Linked DNA regions of Homo sapiens: all the other regions are linked to region 1. Evidence: promoter capture Hi-C in human tissues and cell types (Jung and others, 2019). All regions are on one chromosome and are shown on one strand. The core of a region is centred on a gene start or on the middle of the fragment in contact, and the rest is flanking DNA. Distances in the headings are between cores, read along the strand shown.

Region 1 (3,472 bases), core at 301-2,800:
ATGAGATACCATCTCATGCCAGTTAGAATGGCGATCATTAAAAAGTCAGGAAACAACAGATGCTGGAGAGGATGTGGAGAAAGAGGAACACTTTTACACTGTTGGAGGGAGTGTAAATTAATTCAACCATTGTGAAAGACAGTGTGGCGATTCCTCAAGGATCTAGAACTAGAAATACCATTTGACCCAGCCATCCCATTACTGGGTATATACCCAAAGGATTATAAATCATGCTGCTATAAAGATACATGCACACGTATGTTTATTGTGGCACTATTCACAATAGCAAAGACTTGGAACCAACCCAAATGTCCATCAATGATAGACTGGATTAAGAAAATGTGGCACATATACACCACGAAATACTATGCAGCTGTAAAAAGGATGAGTTCATATCCTTTGCAGGGACATGGACGAAACTGGAAACCATCATTCTCAGCAAACTATCACAAGGACAGAAAACCAAACACCGCATGTTCTCATAGGTGGGAATTGAACACTGAGAACACTTGGACAAAGGGCGGGGAACATCACACACGGGGGCCTGTCGGGGACTGCGGGGCTGGGGGAGGGATAGCATTAGGAGAAATACGGAATGTAAATGACGAGTTGATGGGTGCAGCAAACCAACATGGCACACGTATACCTATGTAACAAACCTGCACGTTGTGCACATGTACCCTAGAACTTGAATAAAAAAAAAAAAAAAAAAGAAAAATTACTTGACATATCTTGACATTTTAGGCTCCCAGGATTTTACAGTATTCTTAACAGGTTTTGTCAGCAAAATCAACCCCCACCCCCGCATCAGTTTAAGAGCCCTGGAAGGCTCTGCCTATTCACCAGCATAGAGCTGAGATCCTTAAAGGGCCAGTTCAGGGCACTGCTCCAGCAACCGTTGCGCTGCTATAAGCTTGAGCACATCTCTTGCCCCTCCTCTCTACTTTTATAGATCCTGCATTTATTTAGCATATAATCTTTTCAATATTGACTTTGTATATGTATGTCTTCCCCTAAACTGGATGTATCTTTTAAGGAAAAGCCTGGGGTTCGTCATCCCCCTATGTATCACCTTTACAGGCGGTCACCCAAAATCTCCACATTCATCATAGAAACAGAAATTCCACTAATAAATGTCAGGTACTGCCTCCTTAACCTTGGTCCGCTATTTCCCTCCCACTTTCAGCAGTCTGGTTTATTCCATGGGTGGAAGAGGAAGCCAAGTTGGCTGAGTGTGAAGGGAATGGCGTCAGTGTGACTTCACGCCACATCGTCCCGAATGCCAGCTCCACACTGCGGTGGCACGAACGCAGGATTGAGAGATGCAGCTGGAGTAAAGAGAGAAGCCCATGTCCCTCAGACGCCACACAAAATGGGGGTAACCGCGAGAACAAAGCAGGGTACCCAACGGGGTGTGGCGGGACACCTGGGCGCACGCCGCCAGCGCCCGGGAGAGCGAAGGCGGGGAGAGAGGAACCACGCTGAGGCGTGGCAGGATGGGGGCGGGACTTCCGGAAGCCATTTGGCTGAGTGGCAGGGGAACCGGAAGTGGAGGAGCTGCTGCTGGTGCTGGGGCCGGAGGAGGGACGCGCCGGAGCGGGACCGACGGGACCGAGCGAGCGACCGACGCGCCACCCGCCGACGCCTCAGCCGCTTGGGGCCCGCACGGACCCTCTACTTCAGTGAGTGCATCCAGGGTCGCAGGGAACCGGTGGCTTAGAGGCGGGGGTCGGAAGGGGCTGCGAGGTGTTATTGTGAGAGGCCCGCGACCTCCCCTCCCCCACCCTTGCGGCCCCTCCCCCCACGCCGCCCCATCCACTTGGGGGGGGCCTCGCGAGCGCGCGCCTTCTCTGCGGGCCCAGCGTCGGCTTCCCAGCAGCCGGCGCAGCTAGTTTTCGCTCTGAGAGCCCTTTCCCGATATTCCATACCGAAAGCTGGCGTTTCTCCTCAGCCGCCGGCCGGCGCCTCCACGGCCTTTCCCAGGAGGGTAGCGCGGCGGGCGCCCCGCCCCGCCCTGCCCTGCCCTGCCCTGCCGGGCCCACCCGCGGTAGGCCTTGCGCACCCCAGCTCGCCCCGGCTGGGCGCTGCAGCTCCTGCCCGGGTCTCCGCTGCTGCCTTTTCCCTTTATCACAGGGGTCTAACTTCTCACTCTTCTCTCCCCTCGCGTCTGGTCGGAGGCCAAAACCAGTTACTCCGTTGTGTTTTTACCGAGCACTTTTCCCTCCTCCTTTTGTTGAAAAATTTCAACTCTTTAGAAACTTCTCCGTTGCCTCTTAGGATGTGTTTATTCAAAAGTTGCATAGACCGTCACCACTCGGAAGGGATTATTTCTTGGAAGGCTTTCCAGCCCCCATCTCATCTTAGACATGAATGTGCTCGGAGCGGCTGGTGACCTGCCCAAGGTCAGCCAGCTAGATAAACCTGTCAGCGGAGAGGTTTGGGGGGATGTTTTTTTCCTGGCTCACCGTCCGTTTGCCAGATCCGTGCCTTCTGGTCTACAGGTTTGATTGACCCGTTGCGTGGTGACTCATGCTTCTGCTTTTCATAGCTCGCAGGCCAGCGTTGCTTTTCAGAATTTATACACAAACAAGAACTAACACTCGGAGCTTTCGCCTCTTTGTAGAGCTTACCCGTAGAGAAAGGAAAGACCACCCGGATCCACCCTAGGACCTCATTTTGTACAGCTTGAAATTATGGGAAGGGGTTGGGCCGGGGGTAAAGGTGTGGAGAAAGTGGAAGGAGAAAGTGCTTAATTAAGATTGTCTTTGCCTTGGATGTGCCTTGTGTCTTTGGCTTCTTCTGGGCACATTGTTCTGACATAAAGGTTGCCTCCTTGTGGGGGAGAAGGGGAGGATTAGTTTGTTGGCTTGGGCATTTGATCATAAATTATGGAGGTGCTGGACCGGAGGAACCACCCACCAGCCCACGGAGGCTACCGGGCATTCAGGATAAGGGCCGCCTTCTTCTTCAGAATAACCATACCCACTCCCTCTGAAACAAAGTGGAGAGTCTTAGGTCTGAGTGGAAACTCTAAATCTTTTAATTCTTGGTTCAACTTTCTTCATCTGTTTTCCTGGTTCAGACTAAAACATCTAACTCAGCTGGAGAAGTTATAACGCTTTGTTGTTGGACGTGGTTTCTCATTAAATACATTGCACTATGCTGGTATAAGCACTTGGAAATTCTAGTGCTGTATTGTCATAGTAAGTAGAGAATATAGAAAAGGCAGGAAAATCGTGCAAGTCGGTTACTCCTCGTCTTCCCAGAGAACTCACTTTAATGGACAACAAAGCTTCCCCTGGAGTACAGTCTGTTGTGGCAAATTAACAAAACTTGTTCTTCAGACCTTTTATTTGCATTCTGCTTGGTCTTTCTTTCTTTTTTTTTTTTTTTTTTTGTGTGTGTGACGGAGTCTCAGTCTGTCGCCCAGGCTGGAGTGCAGTGGCGCGATCTCTACTCACTACAACCTCTG
Region 2 (3,558 bases), core at 739-3,238, 170 kb after region 1:
AAGGGTTCCTGACCTTCCACCTTAGTGCTTTTAGAGAGAGCACAGTCTTTCTCAATGCCCCCTCACTCCCAGCTAAACTCTTCTTTACTGGTCTGGGGAGTAGAGGAGAGGTTTGGAATGACAGGATGAGTGCTCCAGCAAGGGCTTGTGTGCAACCCGAGGCCCAATCCAGGAAAGCCAGTTGTGGTGGCAGGGACTGGGTAGGCAACTTATGGAGCCGGGGTCTTGCTGGCTTTGTCTAATTTGGAGGGTGGTTCTTTGAGCTCGATGGTTTTCAACCTTTTTATTGCAAAAACTCTTTTTTAAAAAAATATAACCCAGAAGTCCACTGTATAAAAACAATAAAAGCAAAGTTATCCTGGGATGCTCAGGAGATTTGGGGCGGGGGGATGGGGATGGCTTGGTGACAGGAAGGGCGGGGATCTAGAGTGTTGACTGCTCCCAGCCTTCTCCCTCACCGCTGAGGTCCCTTTACAGAACCCTGCCAAGCAGGGAAGGAGAGGAAAAAAAGAAAAACCACCTGGTCCTTCTTGGTTTCTGAGACTCTGAGCCCTCATAGTTTTCTACTGCTCTGATCATTTTCTCTTGCTCCCTTGTCTATACCTAATATTCTTTTCCTAATCATTTTTCTCCTTTCCCTCTCTGTTCCCTCAAAGAACAAGTCTATTTTTTAACTTGGCCTCTCTGTGGATGAGTCCTGTCTGCCTGTCCAGTTCTAACTTCTCTCCAGATTCCCACTGTCAGCTGGTGGCTGAATACTTCCACGAGGATGACCCACTAGCATCTCAAAGGCATGTCCCAGATCGTAGAACACAGGAAGGAAAGGCCCCGGTATTTGAACCCCTACTCTGTTCTTCTTAACAGAATCACTTTGGACAAGACACTTAGTCTCTCTGGGTCTCAGTTTCCTTATCCCTGAAATAGATATGCTAATACCTATCCCTTATAATTAAAGCAGAATAATAAACATAAACTTTGGTAAACTATATTGTACTTCCTGGCTGGGTGCGGTGGCTCATACCTGTAATCCTAAGACTTTGGGAGGCTGAGGCGGGCGGTCACTTGAGGTCAGGAGTTTGAAACCAGCCTGGCCAACATGGTGAAACCCCCATCTCTACTAAAAATACCAAAAAAAATAGCTGGGGGTGGTGGCGGGCACCTGTAATCCCAGCTACTTGAGAAGCTGAGGCAGGAGAATCACTTGAACCAGGAGGTGGAGGTTGCAGTGAGCTGAGATCGCGCCACTGCACTCCAGCCTGGGTGACACAGCGAAACTCCATCTCAAAACAAACAAACAAACAAAAAAACTATATTGTGCTTCAAAAGCTTTCCCCTGTTGCTTTGTTCCCTGACAAAAAGTCAGAGAGGTTAAATAAAGCCATCATCTCCTCTTCCCTCTCTCTCACCCCATACATCTCATCAAGCGCAGAGAATAACTGGTTAAACGATGGATGAATGCTGATTCCTCCTTTCTACCCTCACTGCCACCATCCTCTTTCAGGCCCCCGTATCCTGAGATCCTTGTTTGCATGTCTAGAGTCATGATGCTAGACTCTCCAAGTTATTCTGCACACTGAAGCTGTTTTCCTGGAACTAAAATTAGACGATATCATCCCTCTTCTCGTATACCTACAAGGATTCCTTACTGTTTGCAGAATAAAACCCAAAGTCCTGTCAGCCCCATGGCATCCCCACCATGCCTTCTGGCTTCTCACCACAGTTCACGCTTTTCTTCATGAAGTGCTCCTCCTCACCACTCTCCATATTGCAAAGCTTTCTCCTCTTTCAAATACCTCCGTTTTGGCTGGGCGCGGTGGCTCACGCCTATAATCCCAGCACTTTGGGAGGCTGAGGCGGGTGGATCCCTGGGCGAGACTCCCTCTCAAAAACAAAAACAAAACAAAACCCTCCTTTTCCAGCAAGCTGTGCCTAATACCATGTCAGAAGTAGCTGCTTCTCTCTGTGCACTTCCAAGATCCACTGTTTCACTATTTGTACCAAATGCATTTGGTTTTGTGTAATATTTAGGTATTATGTCTATGTCTCACATCAGATTGTGAGCTGTCCAAGGGCTAAGACTATGGCATTATTTTTCTCTTCTACACACAGTAGGCAAGTACTCAACAAATATCTGTTAAACTGAATTGACTATCACCAAATTTCACTCCTAACAGTTACCTTATTATCCTATGTTTGGTCAGTGATGCTCATAATATCAAAATGAGATAACATCCTTTTATTTATTTATTATTTATTTAGAGACAGGGTCTCACTCTGTCACCCAGGCTGGAGTGCAGTGGCGCAATCTCGGCTCACTGCAACCTCCACCTCACGGGCTCAAGCGATTCTCCTGCCTCAGCCTCCTGAGTAGCTGGGTTTACAGGCATGCAGCACCACACCTGGCTAATTTTTGAATTTTTAGTAGAGATGGGGTTTCACCATGTTGGGCAGGCTGGTCTCCAATTCCCAGCCTCAGGTGATCCACCCGCCTCGGCCTCACCTGAGTGCTGGGATTACAGGCGTGAGCTGCTGAACCTGGCCCTTTCGTTTAAAAGAATAAAAATACTTTCTCTAAGAGCTACAGTTCTGCATTTACAACTGCCTGTCAACAGTTCTGTTTAGAGGCTTGCAGCTTATGTATTCATTCACTCAATGTTTTTTAGGTGTATGTTCTGAGCTTGGTATTGTTATAGATTATTATAACACAAAGAGAGGATACTGCAAAATAAATAAATAAAATTAAAAAGACATTGTCCTTAAGAGCTTGAAGTTTTGTTTGTTTGAGACAGAGTCTCGCTCTGGAGTGCAGTGGTGCAATCTCAGCTCACTGCAACCTCTGCCTCCTGGGTTCAAGCAATTCTCCTGTCTCAGCCTCCCGAGCAGCTGGGATTACAAGCGCCTGCCACCACGCCTGGCTAATTTTTGTATTTTTAGTAGAGACAGGGTTTCACCATATTGGTCAGGCTGGTCTTGAACTCCTGGCCTCAGATGATCCTCCTGCCTCAGCCTCCCAAAGTGCTGGGATTACAGGCGTGAGCCACTGCGCCTGGCCAGAGCTTGAAGTTTTATGAGAGAAACAAACACAAAAACAGTTGTAATACATTACAAGTGTAGTAATGGAGATATAAGCAGGTGTAATGGGAGAATGGAAGAGGGATGCTTGTGATAACTTCTTCTTCCCCAAGACAAATGGCACAGTAGGAAGAACAAGGATGAAACAGGTCTTAACTTACTGGCCTTCTACCTGGCCAGTGGTTTAACCTTTCAACCCCATTTCTTCTGCTAGACACTGTGAGTGATAAAGACCTTTTTTTTTTTTTTTCTTTTTTGGAGACAGGGTCTCTGTCATCCTCTGACAAGCTGGAGATTGCAGTGGTGCAATCACAGCTCACTGAAGTAAAGACCTTTTATATATTGCAGGAATTGCTGTAAGGGAAAAACTAATAGGAGGCTAAGGTGGAAGTATCACTTGAGCCCAGAAGTTGGAGACCAGCCTGGGCAACATAGTGAGACAATTTGAAAAAATCAGCTGGGGCTGGTGGCATGTGCCTGTAATCC
Region 3 (3,987 bases), core at 416-2,915, 190 kb after region 1:
ATGCCAGTCTCCTTTGTGAAATCCTGTGATGGCCCCTCATCATTTACAGGATAGAGCCTCTGTTCTTCCAGGCCCTTTATAATATGCTCTTGCCTTTCATTCTAGAGCTCTGTCTTGCCACTCCTCCCACTGTCCCTTGCACTCTGGTCATGTCAGAATGGTTAAGAGTTTGGGCTTTGGAGTCAGACATGGATACTTACATATTCTGCTCTACCGTTTATTAGCTGTGACACCTTGGGCAAGTTTGTTTGTTTGTTTGTTTGTTTTGAAATAGAGTCTTGCTCTGTCGCCCAGGCTGGAGTGCAGTGGTGCGATCTTGGCTCACTGCAGTCTCAGTCTCCTGGGTTCAAGCGATTCTCCTGCCTCAGCTTCCCGAGTAGCTGGGACTACAGGTGGGCACCACAACTCCTGGCTAATTTTTTGTATTTTGGTAGAGACGGGGTTTCACCATGTTGGCCAGGCTGGTCAGGATCTCCTGACCTCATTATCCGCCCACCTCCGCCTCCCAAAGTGCTGGGATTACAGGCGTGAGCCACTGCGCCTGGCCTTTTTTTTTTTTTTTTTTTTTTTAACTTTGCTAAGCCTCAGTTTCCTTATTTGAAAAGTGAAGATAATTCTATTTTGCTGAGTGGATGAAGTGAGATGATGTATATAGAGCACTCAGTACAGTTCCTGTAACATAGGAAGTGTTCAGTGGCTATAAGCTTTTGTTGTCATAATTAATTCTTTGCACCCACCTTATGATTTTCTTCTTTTTTGCCTTTGTGCATGTTGTTCCTCTGCCGTGAATTCCCTTACTCCGCTTATCCTGGGGATCACCTGCTTATCCTTCAAGAACTATCTCAATTGTCCTCTGTGAGGCTTTCCCTGATCTTCCTAAGATTATTTGCCCTTACCTTTGTGTTCTGTTATATATTATGTTACTTCCTTTAATTCATGTAACACATTTTGTAGTCATGTGTTTACGTGTTTGGCTTTCCAGGTAGGCTGAGCTCAAGTTCAGGGCCATGTGTAATCAGGTTTGTAGCCCTAACACGTCGCACAATGTCTGGCCCATGGTGGGTGTTCAGTAAGTGATTACTTGGCGCGGTGACTCACGCCTGTAATCTCAGCACTTTGGGAGGCCAAGGCGGGCGGATCACCTGAGGTCAGGAGTTCGAGACTTGGCCAACATGGTGAAACCCCATCTCTACTAAAAATACAAAAATTAGCCGGGCGTGGTGGCAGGCGCCTGTAATCCTAGCTACTCGTGAGGCTGAGGCAGGAGCATCATTTGAACCTGGGAGGCAGAGGCTGCAGTGAGCAGAGATCGTGCCATTGCACCCCAGCCTGGGTGACAAGAATGATACTCTGTCTCAAAAAAAAAGCAAAGAAAAAGTGATTACTTAATGTCTGAATGGCCTTAACTTATATTGCCTGGTGCTGGATATGTCCTTTGGAGCAAGGTAGAATAAACCCTTTTAAATAGGTGAATAGCAGTCATAATAATGTAATGTCTAACATTTATTGAGACCTTAGTATATTTTAAGCACTTTACATGTATTGAATCATATAAGCCTCACAACACATTGTGATGGATATTGTTAGTACTCTCATTTTATAGATGAGAAAACTGAGGCTGTCCAGCTAGTAAGAGGCAGAGCTGGGATTGAAAGCCAAGAATGTTCCAAAGCTTTTGCTCATTACCACTGCGTAATCAACTCTGACATCTTCCACCTTCTCCCCTTTACCTTCTCCAGTCAATCTTTTCTGTGGTCAACCTTCTTTGTAATTGTTGGAGCAGGGTGGAAGAAATAAATATACAGAGAACCCTCATTATGTCTGTGAGTGTATATTCTCTGTTAGTGTGCAGATGTGCAAAACTCTAGCTATGCTGACAAAGTACAGGGCAAGGTAGCCACAATATTGAAGGACTGGGAAACGATATGTACTGAATGGAAGAGAACTGGGAATACTTAGCCTACCTTAGCTAGAGAATCCTAGGGTGTCCCCAGATGAGCAGAAGGCAGACTTGAGATACCAGGGAACATTTTTTTAGAACCTGATTATTGGCTTACTATTAGACCTTCTAATAGTTAAGAATTATCTAACTATGGAATTGAAAATAGAATCTGTAATACTAGCTAAATTTGTGTAACTTTTCTGTATACAGGGACTGTGCTAGGCACTTTATAAGTGTTGTTTCATTTTACTTTCAGGCTTTTTGATTTTTGTTAAGATTGTTTTAATTATACACATGCAGTTATTGAGGCTGAGAGAGGTGAAGCACCTTGCCTAAGGTCATACAGCTGCTAAGTGAGAGAGCTGGGATTTGAATCCAGGTCTTCTGTCTCCAAAGCTGGTACTTTGACCACTATGCCGCCTGTCACTGGAAGCACAGAGAGGAAAATTTTGGCATGGGAAGGAAGGTGGACCAAAACTACTGCGGGTCTTCCTAGCTTCTGAGATTGCTGGTGTATTTTTTTTTTTTTTCAGATAGGGTCTCACTCTGTTGCCCAGGCTGGAGTATGGTGGTACAATCATAGCTCACTGCAGCCTCGAACTCCTGGTCTCAAGTGATCCTCCCACCTCTGCCTCCCCACTTTACACTCTTTATGTAACTCTGTCTTCCTTTCCATCTGATCACATAGCTCCTGCCTCAGCCTTCCGAGTAGCTGGGACCACAGGTGCACGCCACCATGCCTGGCTAATATATATATATATATATATATTTGTGGAGACAGGGTCTTACTATATTGCTCAGGCTGGTCTTGAGCTTCTAGGCTCAAGTGATCCTAGGCCTTGGTCCCCCATAGTATTGGGATTACCGGTGTGAGCCACAACACCCGGCCTATTCCTTGGTTTTATATTAGCAGTTACAGCAGTAACTGAGCTCCGACAGCTTACATAGGCTTATTTTAGGCTTTGTTGGAAAATTCCAGAGGAGGAGACATGGCCCTCAGAAGTTTGTGGTTTAACAGGAGAGGTAAGAAGACACATTTTCATAAAAAAAGTAATATTGGCCAGGCACGGTGGCTCACGCCTGTAATCCCAGCACTTTGGGAGGCCGAGGCGGGTGGATCACCTGAGGATAGGAGGTCGAGACCAGCCTGACCAACATGGAGAAACTGCATCTCCACTAAAAAAATACAGAATTAGCCAGGCGTGGTGGCACATACCTGTAATCCCAGCTACTCAGGAGGCTGAGGCAGGAGAATCGCTTGAACCCAGGAGGCGGAGGTTGCAGTGAGCCGAGATCGCACCATTGCACTCCAGCCTGGGCAACAAGAGCGAAACTCCTCTGTCTCAAAAAGAAAGAAAGAAAAAATAATAATATTGAGAGAAATCTGTCTGGGAACACATGAAAATTATGAGCTCAGTGCTAAGGTGGTTCTGGGTTGACAGGAGAGGATAAAATTGGCTGGGAAGGCTTCCTGGAGGAAACGTGTGAGCCACTCCTTTTTTGCCTGATTCTGAGATTGGTAGGAGATGCATGAGTGCAGTTGGGTGACCCCTCCTAACTCTGGCTCACAGAAGGTCTCAGGCTAGGCAGCAAGTAGATCTCACTGGATTTCATCTCATCTATTGGTAACTGCTACGTAGTGAACAATGTTGAGGGTTCTGAGGCCATGTCTAGGGTGCCATAATTGACTAGTGATGTCCTTCACAGTTTTAGGCCTGGAGGAAAATAGTAGGACATGTCCTATTTGTTTGCCATGGCAGATCTAAGGGCTGCATTCTCATTTATTGATTTATTTTAGAGACAGGTCTTGCCCTGTCACCCAGGCTGGAGTGCAGTGGTGTTATCATAGCTCACTGTAGCCTTGAACTCCTGGGCTCAAGGGATCCTCCCACCTGAGCCCCCCAAGTAGCTGGGACTACAGGTGTGTGTCACCATGCATGGCTGATATTTTTAATTTTTTGTAGAGACGGTCTCACTATGTTGACCCAGCTAGTCTCAAACTCCTGGCTTCAAGTGATCCTCCTGCTTTAGCCTCCCAAAGCCCT

What was found. Contacts are between HindIII fragments. The study calls those that stand out against the background at their distance.
Region 2: a fragment that was not itself captured here is called in contact with the fragment with the promoter of PAFAH1B2 in region 1 in 3 of the 25 tissues and cell types used here (aorta, dorsolateral prefrontal cortex and pancreas).
Region 3: a fragment that was not itself captured here is called in contact with the fragment with the promoter of PAFAH1B2 in region 1 in 1 of the 25 tissues and cell types used here (bladder).

The regions. Positions count from the first base shown.
Region 1 is chr11:117,142,737-117,146,208 of GRCh38, forward strand. It overlaps PAFAH1B2 (platelet activating factor acetylhydrolase 1b catalytic subunit 2), which reads left to right and starts at 1,551. Exons shown (of 6, transcript NM_002572.4): 1 at 1,551-1,682. RefSeq lists a silencer at 1,761-2,080 and an enhancer at 2,631-2,810. The HindIII fragment of the contact is 6,098 bases long and covers 1-3,472 here.
Region 2 is chr11:117,307,669-117,311,226 of GRCh38, forward strand. The region is part of intron 1 of BACE1 (beta-secretase 1); the gene reads right to left. Among named protein-coding and RNA genes, the nearest start is that of BACE1, 6.8 kb to the right of the region's middle. The HindIII fragment of the contact is 6,827 bases long and covers 1-3,558 here.
Region 3 is chr11:117,329,293-117,333,279 of GRCh38, forward strand. All of the region lies in intron 1 of CEP164 (centrosomal protein 164), which reads left to right. Among named protein-coding and RNA genes, the nearest start is that of CEP164, 3.4 kb to the left of the region's middle. The HindIII fragment of the contact is 5,196 bases long and covers 1-3,987 here.